6 separate regions of the Homo sapiens genome follow, and all the other regions are linked to region 2. The links are contacts of gene promoters, found by promoter capture Hi-C in blood cells and fetal thymus (Javierre and others, 2016). All regions are on one chromosome and are shown on one strand. Each heading gives the region's core, a stretch centred on a gene start or on the middle of the fragment in contact. The rest is flanking DNA. Distances are from core to core; before and after follow the strand shown. Region 1 overlaps TMEM131L (transmembrane 131 like). Region 2 holds the start of MND1 (meiotic nuclear divisions 1). Region 3 overlaps TMEM131L (transmembrane 131 like). Region 4 overlaps ARFIP1 (ARF interacting protein 1). Region 5 has its middle 9.4 kb from the start of TLR2. Region 6 overlaps RNF175 (ring finger protein 175).

What was found. The method cuts DNA at HindIII sites, captures the fragments that hold promoters and counts their contacts. A CHiCAGO score of 5 or more calls a contact.
Region 1: a contact is called between a fragment that was not itself captured here and the fragment with the promoter of MND1 in region 2, in 10 of 17 cell types (activated CD4 T cells, naive CD4 T cells, non-activated CD4 T cells and 7 more). The highest score is 10.3, in activated CD4 T cells.
Region 3: a contact is called between a fragment that was not itself captured here and the fragment with the promoter of MND1 in region 2, in 10 of 17 cell types (activated CD4 T cells, naive CD4 T cells, non-activated CD4 T cells and 7 more). The highest score is 11.8, in activated CD4 T cells.
Region 4: a fragment that was not itself captured here is called in contact with the fragment with the promoter of MND1 in region 2 in 4 of 17 cell types (naive B cells, total B cells, naive CD8 T cells and 1 more); the score reaches 9.9 in naive B cells.
Region 5: a fragment that was not itself captured here is called in contact with the fragment with the promoter of MND1 in region 2 in 1 of 17 cell types (endothelial precursors); the score reaches 5.1 in endothelial precursors.
Region 6: a contact is called between a fragment that was not itself captured here and the fragment with the promoter of MND1 in region 2, in 1 of 17 cell types (M2 macrophages). The highest score is 7.2, in M2 macrophages.

What each region holds. Positions count from the first base shown.
Region 1 is chr4:153,625,346-153,628,256 of GRCh38, reverse strand. TMEM131L (transmembrane 131 like) reads right to left here. Exons shown (of 35, transcript NM_001131007.2): 30 at 2,032-2,110; 31 at 570-652. Among named protein-coding and RNA genes, the nearest start is that of TLR2, 57 kb to the left of the region's middle. The HindIII fragment of the contact is 9,544 bases long and covers 1-2,911 here.
Region 2 is chr4:153,343,321-153,346,198 of GRCh38, reverse strand. It overlaps MND1 (meiotic nuclear divisions 1), which reads right to left and starts at 1,511. Exons shown (of 8, transcript NM_032117.4): 1 at 1,459-1,511. The coding sequence starts at 1,461. RefSeq lists enhancers at 403-522, 603-662 and silencers at 1,143-1,302, 1,433-1,742. The HindIII fragment of the contact is 6,712 bases long and covers 185-2,878 here.
Region 3 is chr4:153,607,536-153,610,641 of GRCh38, reverse strand. All of the region lies in intron 25 of TMEM131L (transmembrane 131 like), which reads right to left. Among named protein-coding and RNA genes, the nearest start is that of TLR2, 75 kb to the left of the region's middle. The HindIII fragment of the contact is 8,401 bases long and covers 1-3,106 here.
Region 4 is chr4:152,850,258-152,853,039 of GRCh38, reverse strand. All of the region lies in intron 2 of ARFIP1 (ARF interacting protein 1), which reads right to left. Among named protein-coding and RNA genes, the nearest start is that of ARFIP1, 72 kb to the right of the region's middle. RefSeq lists enhancers at 1,784-2,442, 2,329-2,623. The HindIII fragment of the contact is 900 bases long and covers 956-1,855 here.
Region 5 is chr4:153,673,412-153,676,375 of GRCh38, reverse strand. It overlaps the pseudogene LOC100419170. Among named protein-coding and RNA genes, the nearest start is that of TLR2, 9.4 kb to the left of the region's middle. The HindIII fragment of the contact is 782 bases long and covers 865-1,646 here.
Region 6 is chr4:153,735,793-153,738,768 of GRCh38, reverse strand. All of the region lies in intron 3 of RNF175 (ring finger protein 175), which reads left to right. Among named protein-coding and RNA genes, the nearest start is that of RNF175, 23 kb to the left of the region's middle. The HindIII fragment of the contact is 8,364 bases long and covers 1-2,976 here.

The sequences.
Region 1 (2,911 bases), core at 247-2,746, 280 kb before region 2:
CTTCCATGCACCTAGGCAACTGCCTTCCCCGCAGGCAGAAGGTCTCAGCACTGATGCCTGAGCAAGGCGGGTCCCCAAGGCTGCTGAGGCTGAATTAGTAGGCTTCTAACACAAAGTGAGTTGGGGAGGAAGGGAAGCAGGCCAGGGAAAGTGGTAAGCAGGTGAGGTGCTGCACCCTCAGCCTAGGCACACTCCCCAATCAGCCTCCTTCCCTTGGGCCACGCATCTACCTTCTGTACTTTTCTGTCATCTCTGACTAGGGAAGGTGAACTAAATGAATCAGGAGTCTGCTGTGAGGGGCCTGGGATTATTCCAGGACATAGGGCATCTGTGCCTCAGCTGTAGGGAGGGGGCTCACTATTGATGCACAAGGTCAGCTGGGGCCCCAATGATGCCCGTCCACAGAGTAGGTGCCTTCCTGATGTATGAACGTGTGGCTTGCAGAAGGGGCTGGTGGGGAAATGGCCCTGTCCCACCCCGCCTGCTCTGTCTTCTCAAACTCATCAGCCAGGAATACAGACAGCACAGAACCCTTGGCTGATGTCTGCAGCAAGACGAATGCATCTCACCTTTATCTTCTTCAACACCTGTGGGCCCGGCAGGAAGGCTGGGACAGGAAGGCTCTGCGTATTGTGGGAGACTATTCACGGTCCTGTGGGGAAGAGGGCAAAGGAGGAACGACTCATTTTTTCTGCACGAGGAAATACTGATATTGTATAACCACGTCTGATTGAGTTTTCACTCAATTGAAGTCTTGGGGAAGAGTTTCTTGGGGAAGAAACATACAGATATAAAGGATGTAAAGTTACACAGCCAGAAAAGAATTGAGGAATATTAAATTCCCAAATCTAGCAAAGTCTTGTCATAACCAACAACAAAAAAAATTAACTAACATAACTATGAGGTAACCTGTGGTTTTAAATCTACCCGTCAGGTAGATTTTCAGACAGGTAGCCACCTGTCTGTATTTCCAGGTAGTTCACCTTCCCTAGTCAGAGATGACAGAAAAGTACAGAAGGGAGATGCGTGGCCCAAGGGAAGGAGGCTGACTGGGGAGTGTGCCTAGGCTAGCAGTTAGCAGCAACTCTTACTCCTTTGCTGACAACCTACCCCCAATAAACCCATGAAGAGCTTTCCTGTGCACTAGTCAAGTTTCCTTCCTCACAAACTCACCCTCTTAACTGCATCCTTTGTCCTCTTACCAAGAGGGAGGTACCTAAGAAACCAAGTTCATTTCTCACACTGAACTCTCCTCCTTCTTACCCACGCTCCTCGTCTCTCACTCAATAAATTGTACTTGTTTATTTTGTCCAGTGCTGCAGAAATCATCATAGGGCAGAACTGGAAACATGTATCTACTAGGTTCTTGCAAAATTTCCTCAATTATCAATGCTCAGTTTTATTTCAAGGCCTAGCAAAGGGTAAATGATTCCCATCTTTATAATAACTACTGCTTCCTCCTTCTATATTCAGAAATAAGGTGTTCTTTTCTGAGACAGGATCTCGCTCTGTTACCCAGGCTAGAGTGTAGTGGTGTGATCATAGCTCATTGCAGCCTCGATCTCCTGGGATCAAGGGATCCTCCCACCTTAGCCTCAGCGAGTAGCTGGAAATACAGGCATGCGCCGCTACGCCTAATTTAAAAAGAAAAAACGAAATTCTTTTTAGAGATGGAGTTTCATTATGTTACCCAGACTGGTCCTGAACTCCTGGACTCAAGAGATCCTCCCACCCTGGCCTCCCAAAGTGCTAGGATTACAAGTGTGAACCACCACGGCTGGCCTCAAAACTTAGGTATTTTCCAACGTGGCTACCTGTCTGAAAAAAAATAGCGATACCTGAGCCTCTCCCACATGAACCATGTTTACTTGCGCCACTCCTGAATTAATAAAATCAGATTTTACTTTCCTGCATCTTTAAAAAGTTTTCATATTTTAACCTGCAGAACCAAGTACAAAGAAGAAACACAATAATTGGTAGAAAAAGCAGTACACAAAACATACTGTAAAAGCTGGAAAATAAAAAACTTACATGGGATTGCAGATGTTATGAGAAAGATTCAAGGAGATGGGAGCTTCAGAAGGAAAATCATTTTGTGAAACACTGTCTCCTGCATTAAAAGAAACACATTATCACAAGTTTCAAAAAGTACACTTCAACTGTATATTCGGTATTAAAATGCATAGGTTATTAATATCATTAATGCATGACTGATTTTTCACTTTAAACTGATATTCTCACATTTTTTAATTAAACATTAAACATGAATCGTGCAATTATACTACAATTATGAACATTTAGGTATATTTCTTTACAATCTCTTTTTGTTGTTGTTGTTTTGTTTTTTTTGAGACAGAGTCTCACTCTGTTGCCCAGGATGGAGTGCAATGGTGTGATCTCGGCACACTGCAACTTCCACCTCCCGGGTTCAACCAATTCTCCTGCCTCAGCCTCCCAAGTAGGTGGGATTACAGGTGTGCACCACCATGCCCAGCTAATTTTTGTATTTTTAGTAGAGATGGGGTTTTGCCATGTTGGCCAGGGTGATCTTGAACTCCTGACCTCAGGTGATCCACCTGCCTCGGCCTCCCAAAGTTCTTTACAGTCTCCTTTATGTGTGTGTATATGTATAAAATTGGAATCATATTTCACATATACATTGTCTTTTGTTTTTTTACACCATTTATTACACTGGGGACATTTCCCTACTATTATATAACCTTCAAATGCAACTTGAAGACTGCATACTATGCTACTGTACAGCAACACCATTAATAATTTTCATCATTCTACTAATGTTAGCCTTTCCCTCAAGCAAAAGACACACTTGTAGTTTTTCTTAACTAATGTACCCCCTTTTTTTTTGTCGAGACAGAGTCTCGCTTTGTCACCCAGGCTGGAGTGCAGTGGC
Region 2 (2,878 bases), core at 262-2,761:
CTCATTAACTATTTACTTAGGATGCCTAACCAAATGAAAACAGCTATTAATTCATAATCAATCAAAAGTTTACCTTTGACCAACACTAAATTTATTTCTCGATCACATATTAAAAAATAGGAAGTCCACATCTTATCAAAAGCTTTAATTTTTTAAAAGGATTCTCTATTATCGGAGGTAAGCTTCTAAAGAGTTAACACATTTAGTATTAGCAGGTGATTCATGTGTAGAGAGATAGATTAGGTAAAAGGACAACGCGCGTTTGAGCTGCACAGTTCTCCAAGTCAGTTATACGAGGCCAGCAACTCTGCAGAGAAAAATTGTAACACAGAAGGGCACTGCTAACAGATTTGTTTTAACTGTAGTCCTGTTTGGCTCCTTAGAGCACTTCACGCCCAGGTGGCTGGGTTGTTAGTTTAACCACAAAGAAGCCGTTATCATTTATAACTACATCTGGACAAATATCTTCAAATAAATACCATACAACTGGATCCTGGTGTCCCACCCTGCCCCCCTTAGCTCGGCAACATTTAACGGCCACGTAAGTAAATGAAGATATTAAAATCTTAGATCCATTTAACCAGATGTTGATTCTTCGCCAACTGAAGCAGAAAAAACGGCATGAAACTTTGAAGGTTTATGAAAATGATTTGATGAGCAGAAAGACGTTAAGCTCACAAAGCCGATCTTACCAGGACTTAACTGATCATGACCCACGAGGAAGCCTAATTCAGTGCAGAGCGTCCTTAAAAAAGCAACAGCGCCCTACACAACCAGCAGCACCCGGCACAAGAGCAGCGACTCCTGCCCTTTGGCAGAAACCGGGGCGTTTTCACAGAAATCGACTAATTGGCACACAGTGAAGATCCATTAGGTAACTCGAAACTGAGCAGTTCTGGAATGTGCTCTACATATTACAATACAGAAAACCACTCAATGGTGACAAACCAGGAGTGCGCTTTGGGATCAAGACGTTCGCTCCCCGCAGTCCCTCCCGCCCACTTGCGCTTTCTCTCCCCGTTCTTAATGGGGGGGGCTACACCACGCGGGGCCGAAGCTGGAGGCGTAGGGAGCCCAGGTTCTCAAGGGCCCCGTGGTCTTTTAGATAAATCCAGGTTGGTGAAGTTCTCGGGTCACGTTCGCGAACGCTTCCCGCGTTCTAACCTAACCCGCCCGAACGGGCCCTGGGGACAGACGCGGGGTGCAGCCGGCGGGGAGGCCGCGGATGCCCCCGCGCCTCGGGACTCCGGACAGGAGCGGCGGGGAACGCCGCAGAGTGCGGAGTGGCTGCGGCGGGGCCGGGCTGGGCCCCTACACGGTGAGGCCGAGAGCCGGGCGACCGCTCCCGCGGCCCGGAATGGCGGTCAACGCCAGGCCGGGATCCACATGCAGCCGAGGGGCGGCGAAGCCCACACACTAGGGAGGAAGAAGACGCGGGACCGTAGCCTCAGTCCTTACCATGGCGCGGGCGCAGGGGCTTCCGCTGGCCGGGCCCGCGCTTGGGGAGAGGGGCGGGACAGGCCAGGACGCGTTTGATTTTGGCGCCGACTACGCCGCGGGGGCGGAGCAGCGAGACGGTGGAGGTGGGGGAAAGAGGCCGGTCCTCGCCCGCGCGGCGCGCAGCGACCCCTAGCGACCCATCCGAGCCGCCGGCGGGGGAAGGGGCGCGGGCCTGGGGCCGGGGCTGTGGGGAGCGTGTCCGCGTCTCAGTGGACGGGTTGCAGAGCTGCCTCCGTCTCCTCGGTATTCTGTGAATGTGACCTTTTTTTTTTTTAAGGACATCTTGCCTTTGCTTTTACTGCGTTTTCTTGGCGCCGCAGAAATATGGCCTAAGTTTGGATGTAAAAAATAGAGGCGTTTAGGCTGTTGAGGAAGGAAACGCTGCCTCCATCCTTCCGGACTTGTCCTGTCTGGGGCGGACTGGATTCCTTTCTCGTCTTCTAATCTGACCCCTCATCTTCTCCCGAGCCGCTACCCACTGCTTTCCAGCTTTTCAAATCCTGTGTATGTCTGTTTGTTTTTCCCTTAGGTTTTAAAAAAGAAGGAAACAACGGAATGAATTTCAAATCAACATGGTCAAAAATACGCTACTTCATGGCTTGAGAATAGATCCAGATTCATAGCAAAAGCTCAGGCCCCTGAAAGTGCTGAAAAATTTTAACTCAGAATTCAATTATTTTGAAAATTATTCTATGGTGTTTTGAACCATTTTTAGGTGTAAGAAGTACGGTTGGGCGCTGTGGCTCACACCTGTAATCCCAGCAATTTGGGAGGCCGAGGCGGGCAAATCACTTGAGGTAGGGAGTTTGAGACCAGCCTGGCCAACATGGTGAAATCCCATCTCTAATAAAAATACAAAAATTAGCCAGGCGTGGTGGCGGACGCCTGTACAATCCCAGCTACTCGGGAGGCTGAGGCAGGAGAATCGCTTGGACCCAGGAGGCAGAGGTTGCAGTGAGCCAAGACCCCGCCACTGCACTCCAGCCTGGGCGACAGAGTGAGACTCTGTAACACACACACACGCACGCACACACACACACACACACACACACAGTGTAGTAAGTCTTGTAGATGCTATAAGAGTAGCATCTAAAGTTGGAATTTATGTCCCCTGTTGCTTCTGCTGGAGGCAGAGGAAGGGGTACATTGAATTGCAGAGTTCCATTAATTTGGTTTTTCCTGTAAGAGTTATACCATGTAACTGATGGTACATAAGGTAATTTTAAAATGATAAATGAGTACATTAAGTAACTACAGTAGTGGTATATACATTTGTGCTACTTGGGGAAAGCCTTGTCTTAATTGGCTCTCAGGCTTGTTGCAGGTGAGTGGTGACTATCTGAGGCCAGTGGCGCTGTGGCAGAAAAATTTACCAAGG
Region 3 (3,106 bases), core at 597-3,096, 260 kb before region 2:
AACATACTTTTATTTGGTTAACAGAAAATTATATAAATATTATGTAACCATAAAAATGCCAGGCAAGCAAATGGCACACACCTTGTAAAGTAATGCAGGCTTTTACGGTTTAAGTACAACCAGGACATATTAGGTCTTATACTTTCAGAAAAAGGGGCTCTATCCCAAAATTAAGGTTATATTCTCCAAATGTCACAAAATGAATACAGAAAATAATCCTTTGGCCAGACTCATTACATAAATAAAATAAAGCATCATGGCATGTTTTTAATGCTTTTGGCTGTGATGGAAATACAATGGCCAAAGTCATATCCAGAGACAAAGCTGATCACTATCAACTGCTTCCTTTAATAACCGGGAATAACTTAGAATTAGTGAAGATCTGAATCAAAGGCTACTAATGCTATTTCCCGGGAATTTCTGTCTCTATAGGACAGTCAACTATTTGCCTAGAGGGTTTAGATCAACTTCATTTAGAGGACTGCTGGGACACAACTTTCAGATCCCTTTCAAACCTGTGCATTTCCGAACCAAGAGCATCTAACAGCAGCCCTGTGGAATCATCATTACCCTCCATTTCCTACCTTGTCAAAATTAAAAGTCATTCTTTAGGACAGATCACCTTTGAAATTTAATTCCTTCTAAAACACAAACTGGCGGTTAGATATCCACAAAGGAAAACATCAAGCACTATGAAACAGTAAAGCAGACAGCCAAAAGCAAGGCAGACAGGGTCCGTACCAGAAAAAGAAAGCATAAGAAGAATATCCCTTTGGATTCTGGAAGCCATAAGTATGAAATACAATACAGATATTTGCCTCAAAAAAATAGGTGCCATTACTCTCCTGGTGTCCTAATTTGTGAGAAAATGGATTTCCTTAAGTTTTCTTCAGGCCAAGAATATAGTACTAAAAGTATTAGTCATCAAAGTTTCTTAGGAAGGATCCAAATTTAATAGCCAGTACAAAACCATCCCCAAAAAGTAATAATGTGCAGACTTTTAGAAAATCAGTAATGCCTTCTATGGGGCCAAGAATCAGGACAAACAATAAAATGAATGTTAACAACAAGTTCTGCAGTGACTCTGAGAAATTCTAACATGAAAGCATTCAAGAATATGGGATACCAAACACATACGTCATTTACAAATGGGGTCAATCCATGCAATATGGTTTGGTTCTGTGTCCCCACCCAAATCTCATGTCAAATTGTAATCCTCAATGTTGGAGGAGGGGCCTGGTGGGAGGTGACTGGATCATGGGGGCTGACTTCTCCCTGGCTGTTCTCATGATAGTGAGAGAGTTCTCACGAGATTTAGTTGTTTAAAAGTGTGTAGCACTTCCCCCTTCACTCTCTCTTCCTCCTGCTCCCACCATGCAAGACGTGCTTGCTTCCCCTTTACCCCTCCACCATAACTGTGTTTCCTAAGGTCTCCCCAGAAGCAGAAGCCTGTACAGCCCACAGAACTGTGAGCCAATTAAACCTCTTTATAAATTATCCAGTCTCTGGTATTTCTTTATGGCAGTGAAAAACAGCCTAATACACCAAGTCATCCTATTAAGTGTGCAACTTCCCCATGACCTCACTGAGTAAGAGTGTACCACAGTTAAAAATCAAAAACAAATGGAAAGAACACTAATAATAATAAAGGGGGCAGGAGAAGACGTTGGGAGGTGCACATGTTAATGCCCTTCACGGTGGTAATGGTTTCACGATGTACACTTATTCCCAAACTCATCAAGATGCATACATTAAGTATGTACAGCTTTATAGGTCAGTAATTCCTTTTAAAAGTGGTTAAAAAACAGAAACAAATGGAAGAACAAGACACAAGTGATCTCCTCAGTAACCTGCTTAAAGTTGTACTGTCTCAAATCTAATCACAATCACGTGGTCTGTTTTGAATAAACCATTAAATCTTCATTTCAAGTTAATAGTATCTGTAAGTAAATAGGAACATTTTTGGAATTTCTGCAAATACCAATAATTTCAGAAAGGTGAGGAATGTAATTCAGTGAAAACTTTCAGGTACTGTTAAGCTCAAGGCTTGAGCTATTATCAAATTTAATTATACCTTTACATTATTACAGGTAGAAACCCGTGAAATAATTTGCTCACTATTTCTCCTTGGTAGTGCTGCGGCCAACCATAGCTTGTCTTTAGCCATAACTCTAATCTACATTATTTTGATCAGACAGTGAAAATGGTTACAAACATTTAAAAAGAGCTATATTCACAAGATCATTTACATTACACATAAAGCCCCACTCTTGTCAGATGACCAAGAGGTTCTGGAACGTATAACGAATGTTTGACAAGTTTAACTGTTTGATAGTTGTTTGACAAGTTGATGCCAAAAAACAAGTGTAGAAAAACAGAGCCCTAAAGAATGTCAGCAGACTTTATTTCTATTGAGAATTTTAATTAATTATTTACTACAGGCCTCTCCGAAGCAGGCAGGGGAAATGGAGTAGAAAAGGGACACATTTTTTTTTTCATTTTTTGTTTTTGCTTTTATTTTTGAGACAGGGTCTCACTCATTGCCCAGGCTGGAGTGCGGTGGCACAATCACAGCTCACTGCAGCCTTGACCTCCTGGGTTCAAGTGATTCTCCCACCTCAGCCTCCCAAGTAGCTGGGACCACAGGCCCATGCTCATGTACCACCATGCCTGGCTACATTTGGCTACTATACATATACATATACTTCTTTGGGTAGAGATGGAGTTTCACCAGGTTGCCCAGGCTGGCCTGGAACTCCTGGGCTCAAGTGATCTGCCCATCACGGCCTCCCAAATATGACACATTTTCTATTACTTACAAAATATTATGTTTCTTGATGGCAAGTATGTAGTCAAAGCCATTCATACATACCCTAGAACATTTTCTTCTCACACAATAAGCTACACCCGGGGGTGGGGGGAAGCCTCAGAATAGGAGAAGGCAGATTATTCAGGTGCCTCCAGGAGTTCTGATAGTTAGGAAAATCACTTAAGGTATTCTTAAGAGGCGGGACTGTCCCCACCTTTCCCTTTTTCCCTTTAAAGGCAATCTTATGACTAGAATGGTTTCTACAGACCATTTGTATACTTTGGGAGAAATGGCTAA
Region 4 (2,782 bases), core at 156-2,655, 490 kb after region 2:
TCCCTCCCTACTGTCTGCTGGGGTTCTTTACTAAACAAACAAAAGTTCTTCCAGAAGAAAACTCTACTGTCCTATAGGTAAAACAGGTGTAAAATCTGAAAATCACTAAGGCCTTCCTATGCCTAAGCTGCTACTAACAGAAGGAGCCTAACCAAAAATGATACAAATAGGTTGAATTCCAATTCTGAAGAGAACTATCATTCTGATGTGGTTTGGCAGCTAAATGAAACACAAAATAATAGGGGCTATGTGAGACGAATTTATGACTTGTGAGATAATACTAGGGATTTTATGAGTTTGTTGTTTTCAATAAAATACTCATTCTCTAAGTAATATTATATAGCCTCACAGTTCACCAAAATTTTAAATGTGCTTTCTTTACATAACCCGAAATTTTTTTTTTTTTTTGAGACGGAGTCTCGCTCTGTCACCTGGCTGTAGTGCAATGGCGTGATCTTGGCTCACTGCAACCTCCGCCTCCCAGGTTCAAGCAATTCTCCTGCCTCAGCCTCCTGAGTAGCTGGGAATATAGGCACACGCTGCCACACCTGGCTAATTTCTTTTGTATTTTAGTAGAGACAGGGTTTCACCGTGTTGCCCAGGCTGGTCTCGAACTCCTGAGCTCTGACAATCCGCCCGCCTCAGCCTCCCAAAGTGCTAGGATTACGGGCATGAGCCACCGCGCCTGGCCAACCCTTAAATTTTTTAAGTGTATCAGTTATATAAGTCTGTGCCTAGCTTAGCAACTTATAAAGTATCTGCTACTGAATTTACTCCTATATTTTCCAGACTATATTTCAGAGACAATGGACCCATTTATAATTAACAACATAAAATTCCTAATTTGCATTTTTATGTTGCTGACATTCAATTCAAAGTTTAACACTTTGCAAGGCCAAGCTTAACAAGTGTATAATAAAATGGGATAAACCTGAGTTAACCTTTTATTCAAGCTTTTAGCATAATGCTTGAGTATTTAATAGTTTTTAAAAATATTTTTCAAACAATTAAGCTAAAACAAAATATGCTTTTGGCAAAAGCTCCAAATACATTTTTGTACATTTTAGGTACTTTTAAAAGAATACAAAGTAATATTTGTAGTAATAGCTTTCATAAAGCTGTGAAAAATAACGTCTCCATTTTGCATATTTTAATAGAGGTTACTATAATTATGACATTAAAAACATAAGTTTAGAACTTAAAATTTAGCATGGTAATACTTTTGAACTGTAGTGTAAAACCAACACATGAAGAACACAAAATGTTCAGTAAATTTGTTTTAAAATATATATCCTTGAGAATGTCCTAAGTCTCACTCCTCTTTTGCCCTTGATGACTGAACTTGTTTCCCATGTCTCTAGTACTGTCAGTCCCGCAATCAATTCTTCAAACTAGACAGAGACAGTTTTCTAAAATGTGAACCCAACTGAGACACTCCCATTTTTATAGCATTTAGTGGCTCTCCATTGCCTTTTAGGTAAAGACTAAACTCTTCAATATGGTTTTCAAGGTTTTGCAGGATCTACTATCTACTTATCTCTCTAGCCTCATTTCTCACACACCTGCCCTCACATTCTCCATTCCAACAACATGAATTTCCAGTTCTATGGTCTCACACTTCCTTCGGGTTGTTACAGTTGCTTCTGATGAGAATATTTTTCACCCTTTATCTGGCTAGGTCATCCTTCAGACCTCAGCTTATATAGTAATCACTCAGGTAATCTTTCCATGCTCCCACCAGTACTCAGACCATGCTATACTTGGCCTAGCACAACATTTTTCACATGGTATTAAAATTAATTTGTCTATATCCTCTCTTCCCATTCCGAAGACCATATGCTAAGATCAGGAAGCTTATCTATCTTGTTCACCACTTGTATTCTTGACATCTAGCAGAGTGTCTATTACTTCATTTGGCAAGAAATTTTCTCAGTAACATCTCATGCTTCAAAAGGGACAAAACCTTCCAAAGCATCTACATAATAAATTTTTTAAAGAAACAAACTAAAACACTTATGTTAAATGTTTGATGAATTCTGTTAATTTAAAATCTCCTTTGTTAGTTTAACAGTTAGCTGTCTATAAAAAGTATCTGCCAGAAGCAAAGCTATTATTACAACAGCCTCCACATCCCCAGTTCTGTAACACTATTAACCCCCCTTAAGTGGCCTCTCTGCTTCTCCACAATTATCTTGAGTTTTATAAAACTGATTATCTTCCAACATTCTACTTATCAATATTCTATTGTTAGAAGGCAGGGTCAGCATTTTCTAAACTCTCTATTGGTACTTCTAAACAACCAGTTCTCAAACCTTAATTTCAGTAGGAATCACCTGAGGATCCTGTTAAAAATGCAGATTGCTCTTAGCTGTGTGGTGATTCTCACTGAGTTGGAATGTGAAGCCCAGAAATCCGAATTTCAAAACAAGGAAATCAGGTGATTCTGATGCAGGCGATCCTTAGTCTATTTTGAGGAACTGTTGTAGAGAACTGCTTTCCATTCTTGTGCAACTCTGCCCCTACCCAACCCCCCCGTTTCCTGTGTGTCACCTTCCTCACTGCCCTCGTCCCCACCTCAACATTGTCATCTACCTTCTTTCCAGTCAATTTCAAATATTTATTGAAGACTTTGGCACATCTAGGGCTTCTGCTTTATCCCTAACTCTCACCATTAAACTGGGTGTTTCTAACCTTTTGCATGTTGGTGGGCACATTTTCAGGAAATGATTATAGATGTTCAGTTAGCAATTCCTTCCAAGCTGATATATTCGCTGTCTAGGCT
Region 5 (2,964 bases), core at 6-2,505, 330 kb before region 2:
ATTAAGCCAAAGGAGATGCCAAATCAGAGTGACTGTTTAGCAGCACTAGCTTTAGGAATTACCTTCCACAGGTCCCTTGGGCATGAACCTCTAGCCAGCCTTCCCAAATTGGCAAGATATCCCCACTGGGACTTCTTCCATTTGGGACTTGCAGCACTCTGATTCTTTGCTAGAGCTGAGGCAAACCTGTGCTTAAGGCATCATCTAGCACCAAAAAGGAGGTGGCAACTTAGTGGTGGGGGAAATAAGAAATTAACAAGTAAATTACAAAGAATCTCTAGGCAAATATACCAAATAAAAACCAAAACAAGCCAGAAAAGACTGGAATAAATAACAAATCCTTCAATGCAAAGACATAGAGGTATATCCACAAGAAACAACAGCAAATAGGGAACCAAAACCTCCCTAACTGGACAAAGCAAGATACCCATGACAGGCCCTAAGAAGATGGCGATACATGAGCTCTCTGACAAATAATTCAAAATAGCAATTTTAAGGAAACTCAGTGGCCTTCAGGATAACACAGAAAAGCAATTCAGAAATTTATCAGAGAAATTTAACAAAGAGATTGAAATAATAATTTTAAAAATCAAACAAATCTTGGAACTGAAAAAACATTTGCTGAAATGAAAAATTTATTAGAGGGTCTCAACAGCAGAATAGATCAAGCAAAGGAAGGAATCAGTTGGCTTGAAGATAGCCTATTCAATATCACACAGTCAAAAGAGAAAAAAGATTGAACAGGAAGAAAGTTTACCTAAAATACATGGAAATGACCAAGTCTAAAATTTATTGTTGTTCAAGAGGTAGTTGAGCAAGAGCAAGGGATGGAAAGCTTATTCAAATAAATAGTAACAGAAAGCTTTCCAAAAATTGAAAAAGATATAAATGTCCATGTAGAGGAAGGTCAGAGAATACCAAACAGATTCATCCCAAATAAGACTACATCAAGGCATAAAATAATCAAACTCCCAAATGTCAAGGATAAAGAGAGGATCCTAAAAGCAGCAAGAGAAAAGAAGCAAGTAACATACAAAGAAACTCCAATTCATCTGGCAACAGACTTATCAACGAAAACCATACAGGCCAGGAGGGTACGCAACAACATTTTCAATGTTCTGAAAAAACCCTGCCACCCAAGAATACTATATTTGGAAAGGCTATTCTTCATATATGAAAGAGAAATTAACTCTTCCCAGACAAACAAAAGCTAAGAGAAGTCACAACCACCAGACCTGTCTTACAAGAAATGCTAAAGGGAGTTCTTCAATTTGAAAGAAAAAAAAAACACTAACATGCAAAAAGAAAACATTTGAAGGTATAAAACCCACTAGTATGAAGACAACCCAAGAATACTCCAGTGCTGTAATTATGGTATGCAATCCACTCAAAACTCTAGTAGGAAACCTATAAGGCAAGTATATGCAAAACAATAATAGCTATAGCAACTTATTAACAGACAGACAATATAAAAGTATGTAAACTGAGAAAAGAAAAGTCAAAATGTGGGGGGTATTGGAGTCAATGTATAGAGGGTTTTTTGTTTTTTAAGTTTGTTCTTTGTTTCTATTCTTTTTTCTGATCTAAGATAAATTATCATCTCTTTAAAACAACTTGTTATATCTATAAGACATTTTTTGTAAGCTTCATGGTGACCACAATGCAAAAACCTATAATAGATACACTAAAAATAAAAAGCAATAAATTAAAACATACTACCAAAACAATCACTTAACCACAAAGGAAGACAGTAAGAAAGGAGTTTAAAAAGGAGAACACAAGCAACAAAATAGCAGTAGTAAGCCCTTATCAATAATAACACTAAATGTAAATGGATTTAATTCTTCAATTAAAAGACATAAAATGGCTGAATGGATAATGAAACAAGATCCAGCTATAAGAAACCCACCTCATCTATAAAAACCCACATAAATTGAAAGTGAAGTGATGAAAAATGATATTCCATGCAAGTAAAAACAAACAAAAAAACAGGAGTAGCTATACTTATGTCAGATAAAATAAAGTAAAAAACTATAAAAAGAGCCAAAGAAGGTCACTATATGAGAATAAAGGGGTCGATTTGCAAGAGGCTATAACAATTATAAATATCTATGCACCCAACAGCAGAGCACCGAAGTATATAAGGCAAACATAATGGAGCTCAAGGGAGACGTAGACTGCAGTACAGTAATAGTAAGGGACTTCAATGGACAAGTCATGCAGACAGCAAATCAACAAGGAAACATCAGAATTAAACTACACACTAGACCAAATAGACCTAACTGACATTTGCAGAGCATTTCACCCAACTGCTGCAGAATACACATTCTTTTGAATCAGCACATGGAACATTCTCCAGAGTCTGCCATATTTTAGCCCACAAAACAAGTCTCAACAAACTCAAAAAGGAGAAATCATATCAAATATTGTTTTTGACCACAATGGAATAAAGCTAGAAGTCAATAACAAGAGGAATCTTGGAAACTACACATACACATAAAAATGAAACAACATGCTCCTGAATGACCAATGGGTCAATGAAGAAATTAAGAAGAAAAAATTAAAATTTCTTGAAACAAATAGAAATGGAAATATAACATACCCAAATCTATAAGATACAGCAAAAGCAATACTAAGAAGGAGGTTTATAGCAATAAATGTCTACATCAAGAAAGTAAAAATACATCAAATAAACTTACCTAATGATACACTTCAAGGAACTAGAAAAGCAAGAACTGTATTAGGGTTCTCTGGAGGGACAGAAGTAATGGAATATATATATAACATATATATAAACTTCCCTTTACATATATATATATATATATACCCTTTATATATATATATATATTCCTTTTTTATATATATGTATTCCATATATATATTCCACATATATATATATTCCACATATATACATTCCACATATATACATTCCACATATATACATTCCACATATATATACATTCC
Region 6 (2,976 bases), core at 7-2,506, 390 kb before region 2:
AGAAAATAGTTACATACATGGTAGATATTAATCCAACTATATCAATAATCACTTCAAATGTGAATGGTCTAAATATAAAAATTAAAATACAAAGATTTTCAGAGTGGATTAATTTACAAAAACAAGATGCAATTATATGTTGTTACAGATATATCAACAGTAAAGATTTGGAAAAAGATATTCCATACTAACACTAATCAAAAGAAAGCTGGACCAGCTATATTAATTTCAGACAAAGTGGACTTCAGAACAAGGAAAATTATCAGGGATAAGAAAGGGCATTTGGCTTGGCACAGTGGCTCATGCCTGTAATTCCAGCACTTTGAGAGCCCAAGGTAGGAGGACTGCTTGAGCCAAGAGCTCGAGACCAGCTTGGGCAACAAAGTGACACCTTATCTCTACCAAAAAAAAAAAAAAATTAGCCAGATGTAGCGGCAGGCACCTGTAGTTCCAGCTACTTGGAGGCTGAGGAGGGAGGATCGCTTGAGCCTAGGAGTTCAAAACCAGCTTGGGTAACATGATGAAACCCCATCTCTATAAATAATTTAAAAATTAGCCAGGCATAGTGGCATGCTCCTGTAGTCCCAGCTACTCCAGAGGCTGAGATGGGAAAATGGCTTGAGCCCAGGAGGTCAATGCTGCAATGAGCCATGATCTCTCCACTGCACTCCAGCCTGGGCAGCGGAGTGAGACTCTGCCTCAAAAAAAGAAAGAAAGAAAGGGCATTACATAATGATAAAGGGGTCAGTTATTCAAGAAGAAATTCTTAATATGTATGCATCTAACAAAAGAGCATCAAAATATGTGAGACAAAAACTGATAGAACTGCAAAGAGAAATCAACAAATTGACCATTATAGTTAAAGATTTTAATACATCTTTTAGTAGTTGATGGATCAAGCAGGCATAAAATTAGTAAGGACATAATTGACTGAACAGTTCCATTCATCAGCTTGCTCTAAATGATATTTATAGAATACTTCATCCAACAACAACAGAGTATATATTCTTCTTGACATCACATGGAACATTCACCAAAATACACCACATTCTGAGCCATAAAACACTCCAAAATAAATTTAAAAGAATAGAAATTATACAATCTATGCTCTCAAACCACAATGAATTAAACTAGAAATTAATAACAGAAAGCATGGAAAATTCCAAAATATTTTCAGATTAAATAACATAATACTAAATAACACATGGGTCAAAGAAGAAACTCCAGAGAAATTTTAAAATAATTTAAATGAAAATGAAAATGCAACTTATCAAAATTTCTGGGATGCAGCAAAAGCAGTGCTTAGAGGAAAATTTATACCATTGAATGCATATATTAGAAAAGAAGAAAAGTCTAAAATCAATAATCTAAAAATCCACCTGAGGAAACTAGAAAAGGAAGAGTAATTTATGCCTACAACAAACAGAAAATAAATAATATAAATTTTGGCAAAAATTGATGAAATTAAAAATAGGAAATCAGTAGAGGAAACACAATGAAACCAAAAGCTGGTTCTTTGAAAAGATCAATAAATCTGATAAACCTCTAGCCAGACTAACCAAGAAAAAAAAAAGAGAAAACACAAATTACTAATATTATAAAAGAAAATTGGGCTAGGCTTAGTGACTCACACCTGTCATCCCAGCACTTGGGAGGCTGAGGTGGGAGGATCACTTGAGGCCAAGTGTTCAAGACCAGCCTGGGCAACATAATGAGACCCCATCTCTACAAAAAATTTGAAAATTAGCCAGGCATCATGGCACGTGCCTGTAGTCCTAGCTACTCAGGAGGCTGAGGCAGGAGGATTGCTTAAGCCCAGGAGTTGGAGGTACAGTGAGCTATGGTTGTGCCACTGCATTCCAGCCTGGGTCACAGAGAGAGGCCCTGTCTCCCTGAAAAAAGAGAAAAGAAAATGAGATCATCATTACTAATCCCATGGACATAAAAAGAAAAGGCTACAAACAATTCTGTGCACACAAATTTGGATAAATTAGATGAGGTGGGCTAATTCTTTGAAAGACACAAACTATACCAAAACTCGCACAAGGAGAAATAGATGAACTGAATAGGCCTATATCAATTTAAAATTTCAATCAATAATTAATAACCTTCCAAAAAAGAAAGCACCAAGCCCAGGTTGTTTCACTGGTAAATTCTACCAAACATTTAAAGAAGAAATGATACCAGTTCTCTACAATCTCTCCCAGAAAATAGAAACAGAGGGAGTACTTGCAAATTCATTCATTGAGGCCAGCATTACCCTCATAAAAAAACCAGAAAGACAAAGTTGGAGGACTGACACTGCCCAATTTCAAGACTTACCATATGAAGACATTACAAGGAAAGGAAACTGTAGACCAAAATCTCTCAAAAACATAAATCCAAAAATCTTCATCAAAATATTAGCAGAGCAAATCCAACAATGTATAAAATGAATTATACACCACAATCAAGTGAGATTTATTCCAGATATGAAAGGCTGACTCAACAATTAAAAATCAATTTATGTAAATAATCACATCAAGAGGCTAAAGAAGAAAGTCCTGTGATCATATCAATAGATGTAGCAGAAGCATTTGGCAAGGTCTAGCATGCATTCATGTAAAACTCTCAGCAAACTAGGAATAAAAGGGAATTTCCCAACTTGATAAAGAGTGCCTACAGAAAGCCTACAACTGACATACTTAATGGTGAGAAACTGGATGATTTCCCTCTAAGATAAGGAAGAAGGAAAGAATGTCCTGTCTCACCACTCCTATTCAACATTGTGCAGGAAGTCCTTGCTAGTGCAGCAAGATAGGAAATAAAAGGTATGCAGATTAGAAAGAAAAATTAAAACCATCTTACATGATTGTCTATATGGAAAATCTCAAAGAATCAACATAAACTCATGGAAATAATAAGTGATTATAGCAAGGTTGGAAGATACAAAGTAAATATACAAAAGTCAATTGTTACCAGTAATGAACCATTAGA